2 separate regions of the Homo sapiens genome follow, and region 2 is linked to region 1. Evidence: promoter capture Hi-C in human tissues and cell types (Jung and others, 2019). All regions are on one chromosome and are shown on one strand. The core of a region is centred on a gene start or on the middle of the fragment in contact, and the rest is flanking DNA. Distances in the headings are between cores, read along the strand shown.

Region 1 (5,402 bases), core at 934-3,433:
CAGAGGCAGTCACAGCCAAGCATCAGAACTGCGGCTCTGTGCCTACAGTGCCAAAGCCACTGCAGGTGCTCACAGAGGCTGGCAGCCCACAGTACCCAGGGCACAGACACTAGGCTGGAGCCACTCAAGTCAGAGATACTCTGCAGTAACTGGGGCTGGGCCCTGTCAGAGCCAGGTGGGGATCTACAGGCTGGAGGCAGCACGCTAGGGGAGGGCTTGAGACCAAGGGAGGCTGGAGTGATGTGGGTCCCAGGACCTGGAAAGCTATGTTTGTAACTCTGCTCCCCAGAGTTCGCTCTTCTTGATCATCCTTGTTCTCTCCTGCACCTGGCTGGGCTCATTCCTCTTCCCTATCCCTCTGCCCCTTGACTGGCCTTCCTGGGCAAACAGCAGATTGTGAAGTGGGAGCTGTGGGGAAGAGGGGATGGCATGCCTGCTGTGGGTTCAGGGATTGTGGCCATGTGGGCCACCCAGTGGACACTGTCCAGATAACATGAAAAGAGGCCATCCACAGCGGCTCAGCTCTCTGCCCCTCATCTTTGGGCCCCACCTCACATTCATAAAGAGGCTTAAATTCTAGGGTTTTTTCCTTCAGTTCAAGATGAGGTTTGTCAGTGAGGTCACAGACATCCAGCAAGAGGGTTAACGGGGCTGCTTATCCCCCCACTGGGAACCCACCACTCCAAGCTGCCTGCAGAGCACCTATACTTTCTAATACTATTACCTAATACTAGAGAGCCAGAGACACCGTAAATAACCTTGTTATCTTATATTTATGTATTTAAAAGATGGTTCATAAATGTGTTTAGTGCTTACCATGAAAGACAATTTTTACCCCCATCTCCAAAAAGAAGTAGAACTGATTCAGCTCACAGAAGGCTGTTAAAGGCGCCAGAGAAATATGTGATGCAGTGGCTTAAAGAGACTGCCAGGAAGAGTGGGGAAAGTTGCTGCACTCAAGTCAATTTGGGAAATTTCATGCAGAACAGCCACCCAATAGCAAGGCCTCTAGGTAAGTAGGGAGAACGCCTCTGGTCATGTTCAGGTGTTTCGTCTGTCAAGGTGCTTCTCCCGGACAGCTATTTCTGCACAGTTCAACACGACTTGAGTTGGCCATCTCAAAACAGCTATAGCCTCAGTTGCTGTGAGGGCACCTCATGGATGACAGAGGCAAGAAAGGCTTGAGGGAGAGGGGGTGAGGCAGGGGGAGCTTGGAGCCGTCATTCTCTAACCCTAAGAGCTGTGGACACAAAGCCGAGCCCAACCTGGCTGCTGCCCGGGCGGGCAAGGAGAGGGCACCGAATGCACTCTCCCCAGAGCCTCGCACTGCCACCAGTTGAGGCCTGCGCCCCTCTCTTCCCCGCACACCATAGCCTCTTTTCTTGAGTGCTCTACCCAAACTACTGCCTCACCCCCTAGGAAACAAACATTTGGTAACATCTTCAGAAAGGCTGCTTTCAAGGAAGGCAGCTTCTCTACGCTGTCAAACAGCTTTCTTAGTTGAAGCATCTAACTGTGGCACCATCCTTACTGCCCCCAATTGGGGCTTCCAGAAGCAGTGTGGGCAAGCGCTGCCAGCCTTCTGCAGAATGATGAGCACTGGTCAGTCCTGTGCTGATAAAGACTGTGTGTCACCCACGTCTTGGTTTCTCCAACAGCAGGTAACAACCTCATCTTCCCAAAGAGATAGATAGCTACGCCTGACCTATTTTTCAGGGCTCTTCTGGACAGCAGCCTCTGTCTCCAGCACAGAGAAGGGCCTGGCGTCAGGGGGAGCCCTGGAGCCTACCATGTGCCTCCTGCTCCATCTTGGGAGCAGCTGGGCCCTGTCAGTACTCAGTAGAGCCTGGGATTGGTGACTGACTAAAGAGGGAGGTGGAGGCTTTAGGCAGCAGCGCTGAAAGAGGTGGCAAGAGGTGACCTGCATGGGAACTGGGGCCTGAAGAGACATCACTAAGTGGGGAAGTGTGTCCCACAGCCAAGCTGCATGGTGGGTGGGCCGCTGGGTCTGCTTCCAGTGTGTGGTGGGACCCACAGGGAGCTGAGTTTTCCTGTTTGATTTCCCGCACCCAGCCTGCCTGTGGCTGGCCAAGAAGGCATTGTTGAACCTCATGAGATCACAGAGGTAGCTGTGCAGGCCCCGCCCACTTCCTATAACCCTGGTTCTGGCCGTCCCTGTGCCAAGCCTCCAAGTTCCCTGAGAGCTACCGGCCAGGGGTCGGGAGGCTATGGGAGCTCAGGGCAGGCACCTCCCATGCTCCCGCGGGAGCCACCAGGACATGAAGGTCATAGGCCTCTCCTCTCCTCCTCTTCCTGTTTGACCTGAATGCCCCCAGGCCAACTGCCTCAAGGATTCCATTTGAGAAGATGCAGGCTGGGTGTGTGGGGAGCAGTAGAGGGGCTGGTGTGTGCACATATGTGCACAGCTCAGGACAGAGGCTCCCTGGACTTGGGGCGGGGGCACTAGGGCCCCAACTCTAACCCTCGTTCTGCCCTGTTGACCTCTGCTCTCTGGACCAAAAATGGAGGACTCAGTCTAGACTAGTTCTTAGGGTCTAGGAGCCACCTTAAGTTATGTTTATATGCAAAGGCCATTTTTCTGAGAGGCCATAGCTTTCATCAGTGTGCCAAAAAGCGTGAGATCCTCTGCTCTAAAAGCCTCTGCCCCAGCGCTGCCTAGTTTCAGAGCCCCCGATGGCCTCACATGGGGTTTTAGAGCAGGCAGAGAAGCTGCAATGGGGCCACCAGCCAGTCCTCAGAGTCCTGGGTTAAGGCCTCCTCTCCAGGAGGCCCTGTGTAAAGGTTTTCTCTGTTGCCTGGAGGCAGGAGTGAACTGGTAGGCAGGAAACCCTGAGGGTACCTAGGAGGCCCCTAGCCTGTGGGTTGGGGAGGGAAGACAGGACCCCTGGGGCCACTGAAATGGTGGAGCTCTCAGAGACCTGAGTTCTGGTCCCTTCTGCCACTTTTTGGGCAGATCCCGTCTTCCCACAGGCCCTGTGTCTTGCTCAGTCCACGTGACTCTGCTTTCTCATCCTAGGCCTCAGGTGGGTGGCAGGCCCTTTCCTGCTTGCCCTCTGCCCTCCCTCTCTCTGGCCCTGCCCAGTCTCTGCCAATCTGTGTACCTCCCAGGAGCCGGGACACTCCCTGAGTCCTCTGGGAGCCCTTAAGCCACACTGAGAACACAGACCCTGGGAGAAGCAGCCAGCAGTGAGGAATCCTGGAACCCCTTCCCAGGGAGAGCCTTCCCATGACCCCCATGAAGAGATCAGTGCAAACACAGGTGTCAGAGCCCTTCATGGAGTCCTGGGGTGAGGAGTCCCTGCCGGAGCTACCCGCAGAGCAGTCCCTGACGGAGTACTCTGACCTCGAGGAGGCTCCCTCGGCGCACACTCTCTATGTGGGCCATCTGAACCCCCAGTTCTCAGTGCCGGTGCTTGCCTGCCTGCTGCGAGACACCCTGGAGCGGCTGGAGATGCCGGTGGCGCGGGAGCACATTGAAGTGGTGAGGCGGCCGCGGAAGGCCTATGCACTGGTGCAGGTGACTGTCCACAGGGACACCCTGGCCTCCCTCCCCTGGCGCCTGCAGACGGCCCTGGAGGAGCACCTAATCCTCAAGGAGCTGGCAGCCCGTGGGAAGGACCTGCTATTGAGTGAGGCCCAAGGGCCCTTCAGCCACAGAGAGGTAAGTGGGACTTTTCCCAAGCAAGCTCCAAAGCCTCACCCCAAGGGAGAGCCTCTGAGTGGGAGTGGCCTGCAGAGTGGGGATGGAGGGGTGTCTCTGGGGAAGCAGGGACAAATCTGCAAACTTGGGGGCTGCCACTCAAATGACCATGGCTTGCGGCTGGTACTGCCAGCTTTCTCTGGGAAAAACAGTTTGCCTCAAGCTCAAGCCCGACGTTTGTGTGAAGAAAGGCCACGAGGGGACCTCCTCTCCTTAGGTCCTTTTACATTCCAGCCTCTGGGCCTGGGAGACCCTAGAAGACACAGGGGCCCCGATTTTCTCCTTGGCCCAACTCATTTGTTCAATTGACAAACATGAACACCCCCTCTGTGCCAAGAGTAAGGCAGGGATGAGAGGCCCAGCCAGGCCCCCAGGAAGCCCTGCATCTGTGGCCAGAGCTGGACAGCCACCCACCGAGCTGCAAGGTGGCTGCGCTCAGAGCTGTGAGAGAAGACAGGAAGGTTTGCCCTGCTCTCTGGGGACAGATTAACAGGGGAAGTGAAATCCAGGCCGGGACTTAGGGAGTTGGACAGGCACTTGCAAGGGAGGACATTCCAGGCAAGGGACACAGAATATGCAGAGGAACCTGGGGGCTTAGAGGGAGTGTCATGTCTGCAGAAGGGCAAACCATTTGGTGTCCCTGGAGCTCCCACTAAAGGCTGCAGGGGGTGCTAAGGAAGGAAGTTGGGCCAGAAGGTAGGGTAGGGGCCAGGTCACCAAGGCTATCATCCAAGGCAAGGCTGAACTGCTGGCTTTATTGGGTGGGACATGGGACGTTAGGATAGGTCACTCCATGAGACAGGTGATTTTGGTTTCTTTTGGTGTGAAAATGATGGTGTTTAAACTGTTGCAGAACTAAAAGGCTCTGTGGCTTACATTTCAACTCAATTTCACATTTGTATGAAGTTTATCCTGTTTCTAAGACTGATAAATTCATCTTCTCTGGGGAGCTGCAGGGCTGGTAGGGAGGTGCCTCAGTCTCCTCACCCCAACCCACGCTCATGAAAGAATTGTGAGGAGTAACAATCTGCCTTGAAGTTAGCGTCACTAAGGAGGGTTGGCTGGGCGCGGTGGCTCACGCTTGTAATCCCAGCACTTTGGGAGGCTGAGGCGGGCAGATCACGAGGTCAGGAGATCGAGACCATGGTGAAACCCCGTCTCTACTAAAAATACAAAAAAATTAGCCGGGCGTGGTGGCGGGCCCCTGTAATCCCAGCTACTCGGGAGGCTGAGGCAGGAGAATGGCTTGAACCCGGAAGGCGGAGCTTGCAGTGAGCCGAGATCACGCCACTGCACTCCATCCAGCCTGGGTGACAGGGCGAGACTCTGTCTCAAAAAAAAAAAAAAAAAAAAAAAAACAGGAGGGTTGACATGAAAGGGTGAGCCTGGAAGCAGGGAGGTCAGGGAGGGGCTCGCTGGGGAGGCCCAGACTAGGAAGTGGCCCCGAGGAGGCTCACACCAAGCCCTCGAGCAGAGCCCAAACCATGAAAGGAGATTCAGGAGGCGCAGAAGAAAGTGGGGATTAGGGCGGACTTGTCAATAGCCCAGCAAGTAGTGGGCAAAGGTTTGAAATCAGGAAGTGGGTGGGGTACCTGGGAGTCCCTCTCCATTCAGGGTACTGCAGCTCTGTCACAGGGTGCTGAGATACCTGCTGGAATGATCTGGTTCTGGGCCTCAGGGG
Region 2 (5,337 bases), core at 63-2,562, 84 kb after region 1:
AGGAATCATGAGAGCAGGCAGATCACACAAGTTTATCATTCCTATGAAGAGTGTTTAAGAAAACATGGAAATGCAAATGTTTAGAAATATTTTCCAGATTTTTTTTTTCAAAGACTGGGCCACCCAGATTGGAGTCCAAGGGCACAAAGATGGCTCACTGCAGCTTCAATCTCCCTGGCCCAAGTGAGCCTCCTACTTCAGCCTCCCAGGTAGCTGGGACTACAGGCGTGCACCATCATGCCCGGCTAATTTTTTGTATTTTTTTGTAGAGATGAGTTTTTCACCATGTTGCTTAGGCTGGTCTTGAACTCCTGGGCATAAGTGATCCACCTGCTTTGGTCTCCCAAAGCGCTGGGATTACAGGCATGAGCCGCCATGCCCGGCCTTTACAGGCCATCTTCCTCTCACTGCCTTGGGGGATGGGCAGCTCTTCTGTCTCCATGGTGGCCTGTCGCCATCTGTAGATACACTGCATCACATCAGAACACTGAATTGCCTACAGAAAATTCCCCATGAGGGTCCAATGGGTGACTTGCTATACTCAGATCCAGATGACCATGGTGGCTGGGGTATATCTCTTTGAGGAGATGGTTACACCTTTGGGCAAGATACTCCTGAGACATTTAATCATGCCAGTGGCCTCAGGTTGGTGTCTAGAGCTCACCAGCTGGTGATGGTGGGACATAACTGGTGTCATGACTGGAATGTAGTAGCCATCTTCAGTACTCCAAACTATTGCTATCATTGTGGTAATCACACTGCAATCATGGAACTTGATAATACTCTAAAATACTCTTTTTTTGCAGTATGACCCAGCACCTCACAGAGGCAAGCCACATGTTACTCATTGTACCCCAGATTACTTCCTGTAATGAAATTTTAAGCTGGGCATGGTGGCTCACGCCTGTAATCCCAGCACTTTGGGAGGCCAAGGCGGGAGAATCACCTGAGGTCAGGAGTTCAAGACCAGCCTGGCCAACATGGTGAAACTAAAATATAAAATACACTAAAATCTACTAAAAATACAAAATACACTAAAATCTACTAAAAACACAAAATTAGCCGGGCATGGTGACATGCGCCTGTAATCCTAGCTACTGGGGAGGCTGAGGCAGGAGAATCGCGTGAACCCAGGAGGCGGAGGTTGCAGTGAGCCGAGATCGTGCCATTGCACTCCAGCCTGGGAGACAAGACCAAAAATCCATCTCAAAAAAAAGAAAAAGAAAAAGAAAAAGAATTTTAAATTTGAACAGGATTGCCATGAATTGTATATTGACTTAATGGAAATGGGGACAGCAACAGTAACTCCAAAGTGTCAGAAAATAGTTAACATTCAAAAAATTTGTTTTCACATGGACTAAAAGCTGTGCCATATAAAAATACAAAGCTTTTTGTCACCAAGCCGTGATCACTTTAGAATAAACCAGTTCATTGTATGCTGGAGCAACATGGTGTTTGCAGTTACTTTTGCTTTCTTTGAGAGACCGCAGATAATAAGATGTAAATTCACTTTGTGAATACAATTTAACCTCCATCTAGCTATAGCTTTACTCAGCATGACTGTACATAGGGGTAGCAGAAAACAATCACTGGATCACTGGAACTTAATGAAATTAAAAAAAATAAATGCCAAGCCCTCCCCTCTACTTAAGGGTTTTGAAATCGTTCTGTTTATTTTCAGGGATACCATTTAATTTAATTATAAGACTTGCCTCCACTCAGTTTGTCGCCTTCTCAAATCTGAGCCACATGCCATTCTTCGTTATTGTCAGAACCTAGTGAGTGGTTTTGAACAGAGCTGTTTTTGCCCCTTCCTGTAAAGTGATGTTTTATTGCACAAGAGCACTGCAGAGTTTTCATAATAAACTTGCGAGCTCAGAAAAAATTACTCATGAAGCTCTTATTTGCAGTGTTTGTTATTAAAGCAGGCACCCTAAAGAGTATAGCCAGCAGGGACAGATCCAGGTTTTGTGAAAGCCTGAGGTTTATATAAGTGTGTGTGTGTCTGTGCGTGTGTGTGTGTGTGTGTGTGTGTGTTTGTATGGTGAGGAGGGCTCTTTATGAAAAAGACTGCAAAATTCTAAGTACAAAATTAGGTACTACAGGAGATTGCATTACTGGACCCAATACTTCCCCCCTCCTTGGGTCTACATCTTTGCCATATGACTTTGCAGTTTGGGCCACTAAAGTGTCAGAGTGTATTTCTACTCTTCTTGACTCTGGCCTTGGCCATGTAACTTGCATTGGCCAATGGGATTGAGTGGAAGTGACAGCATGTTACTTCTGAGTCTGGGTCTTTCTTCTTTGTACCTTGTCTTCAACATGAGGGCATTCACTGGTTAGCACAGTGGTCCCAGGAGGAAGATGAGGGATACAGGGAGCAAAGCCATCCAGCTGACCCAGCTTAGATAACCTAGCTCACAGCTGCTGTGGCCTAAAGCATCCCAGCTGATCTGCAGATCTATGCCAATAAATACTTGTAAGCCGCTGAGTTTGGGGACCATATGTTACACAGCAGTACTCTACCAGTAGCTAACAAATGCAGGTATAAACATGAAGGTTTATTTGTAATGAGAAAATAAATCACAACAGATAAGATTTTAGCAGCTGACAAATAGCTCAAAAGTCACAGAATCCAGAAAAATACATAAATTTTCATTAATTGCCATCTGACATACCTCTATAATATCCTATATGTTGGCTACATTTTCTTTGGTTGCCTCTCCAATATAACAACTTAAATTTTTTTTTTTTTTTGTAATTTTGTGTTTCTACAGAGAGGAGGGAGAGAGGATTCTCTCTTTCTTCTGAAATGGTTTATTGAAAAATACTTTTTAATTGGTAATTTAGTAAAGTTTCGTCTAGCATCATAACTGACTTTAGGTCATGTTGTTTCAATTATTAAGATTGTTGCCAAAGTTGTGAAAACCTCCATCAAGTTTCTTTCAGGACATTTTCAATTTTCTTGTACAATTAATTGTAAATCTTCTTTTAATTGATTCTCATTATCCATTTGTCATCAATGTTCTTTTGTAGTGGTACATTGTAAGTTTCATGCTTTCTTAGTTCAGTAATGTGTGTCAACTCAGCAAAAGTAAATATTTTTTCCACTGTGTCCATGATCTACTCCTTTTTATTATTCATTATTATTATTTTGAGACACAGTTTCACTCTCCTTGTCCAGGCTGGAGTGCAATGGCCCGATCTCGGCTCACTGCAACCTCCACTCCCACATTCAAGCAATTCTCCTGCCTCAGCCTCCTGAGTAGCTGGGATTACAGGCATGAGCCGCCACGCTCAGCTAATTTTGTATTTTTAGTAGAGATGGGGTTTCTCCATGTTGGTCAGGCTGGTCTCCAACTCCCGATCTCAGGTGATCTGCCAGCCTCGGCCTCCCAAAGTGCTGGGATTACAGGTGTGAGCCACCGTGCCCAGCCTATTGTTATTATTTTTAGACAGGGTCTCACTTTGCCACCCAGGCTGGAGTGCAGTGGTACCATCATAGCTCACTGTAACCTCTAACTCCTGGGCTCAAGTGATCCTTCTGCCTCAGCCCCCAGAGTAGCTAACTGGGACTGCACTGCATGCCACCATGCCTGGCTAATTTTTTTTTTTTTTTTTTTTTTTTTTTGCTATGGGGTCTTTCTGCCATATCTTATGGGCTAGAAAAAAATTTTATTTAAAAATAAAATAAAATAGATTTGGGGGTCCTTGCTATGTTGCACAGGCTGGTCTCGAACCCTTGGGCTCAAGCAATCCTCTCACCTTGGCCTCCCAAAGTGCTAAGCTTACAGGCATGAACAACTGTACCCACCTATTCCTTTTTAGTAATTGGATTACCAAAGACTCCAGAAGGCTATTTATACCTGCTTTGCAAATTTATCTTTTCCTCTTACTGAGTTACTGCTTTTGGAATGATCTGAAATTCTTTTGTTACCATTTTCTTCCATCGATTTTCTGTTGATTTCTACTGGTTTCATTGTTCATTTTTATGGCCTTTATTTTATGCTCTATTAAGCTTTAAATATTTTTTGTCAGCTATTTAATATATAAATTTAAAGGTAACAAAAGGAAATATGTAATTTCTTAATTGTTTTATTGGAAATCAGATGTCTGTCCTTCAGAGAGGCCTTGACCACTCAAATCATGGAGCTCTTCCCAGCACTTTTTAACCCTTGATTTGACTTTCTTTTCCTTTACAGCAGTTGATCTGATGTTAAATTACGCACTCACGTGTTTGTTGTCTGTCTCCTCCAGTTAGAAGCTAAGGAATTAGCTCCTTGAGCCCTAGAACATTGACAGATAAATAGATATTTGTAAAGTCAACGAATGAATGAGTTCCCTAAGTGCCAACCAGTGTCCACACTGTGATTTCTGTCCAGCTGCTTGACGCACTTCCAGGACTGGTAAGAGTCAGTGACTGCTGAGAATCCACAGTGCCCTGAACCCTACCAAAACGCCCCACCCCCATCTCCTTTGTACTAAACTGGGTCTCCATTTGTGACATCTTTTCCATTAAAAAAAAAAAATGTGTCCTGGAGTGGTGATCCCAGCACTTTGGGACGTGAAGGTGGGAGGATCATTTGAGCCCAGGAGTTTGAGAACAGATTGGGCAACATAGCGAGACCTTGTCTCTAAATAAATAAATAAATAAATAAATAAATAAATAAATATAAATTAAAAAGGGACAGACTCAGACTTTTTTGATAGATTATACAAGTTATTTCTCTCTCAACCCAAAGTCTCTGTTCAACCTATAGTTACTTTGCCTACTTTTATATTCTTAATATAGCATGATTTAACTTTCTGTATTATTCTTACCCCCCCTTAAACGAGTAACCCCATTTGCAGCCTCCAACTCAGCATATCCTAAACTGAATGCATCACGTCTCCCTGCACGTGAGCGGGTTCATCTTCAGTTGTTCAGCCACTCAGGCCATGAGTCCAGACGCATTCTCAGCAGTTCTCTCTTCCAATTGCTGCCCATTCTCCATCAGTCACTTATTTCTGTCATTTCTTTGATCTCCTCACCATTTCTTTCATGCTTGCATTTCTCTCCTTCCCCACAGCCAGCACCCCAGTCCAAACCCCTGTCTTCTCTCACCTGGATCAATCTCCTACTGGTATCCTCTACCAGTCTCTGAAATGGTTTGTTAAGACGCAGATATGATCTGGTCACTGCTCTGATTGAAACCTTCAAAGGCTTCCCAATGCTCCTGGGATAAAGCCCTCAATCCTTACATGCCCTGCCAGGGCATGCATGGTCTGCCCCCCTCTGCAAATTCATCTTCTACCTCTGCCTTCTCATTCCCTGCCCTTTTGCCACTCTGGCCTTCT

Evidence for each region. The method cuts DNA at HindIII sites, captures the fragments that hold promoters and counts their contacts. A contact is called where the count stands out against the background at its distance.
Region 2: a contact is called between a fragment that was not itself captured here and the fragment with the promoter of SLFNL1 in region 1, in 3 of the 25 tissues and cell types used here (aorta, hippocampus and mesenchymal stem cells).

The regions. Positions count from the first base shown.
Region 1 is chr1:41,018,506-41,023,907 of GRCh38, reverse strand. SLFNL1 (schlafen like 1) reads left to right here and starts at 2,183. Exons shown (of 6, transcript NM_144990.4): 1 at 2,183-2,285; 2 at 3,038-3,044; 3 at 3,130-3,682. The coding sequence starts at 3,248. The region is part of intron 1 of SLFNL1-AS1 (SLFNL1 antisense RNA 1); the gene reads right to left. The HindIII fragment of the contact is 20,466 bases long and covers 1-5,402 here.
Region 2 is chr1:40,933,634-40,938,970 of GRCh38, reverse strand. It overlaps the pseudogene LOC100128362. Among named protein-coding and RNA genes, the nearest start is that of CTPS1, 43 kb to the left of the region's middle. The HindIII fragment of the contact is 6,881 bases long and covers 1-4,752 here.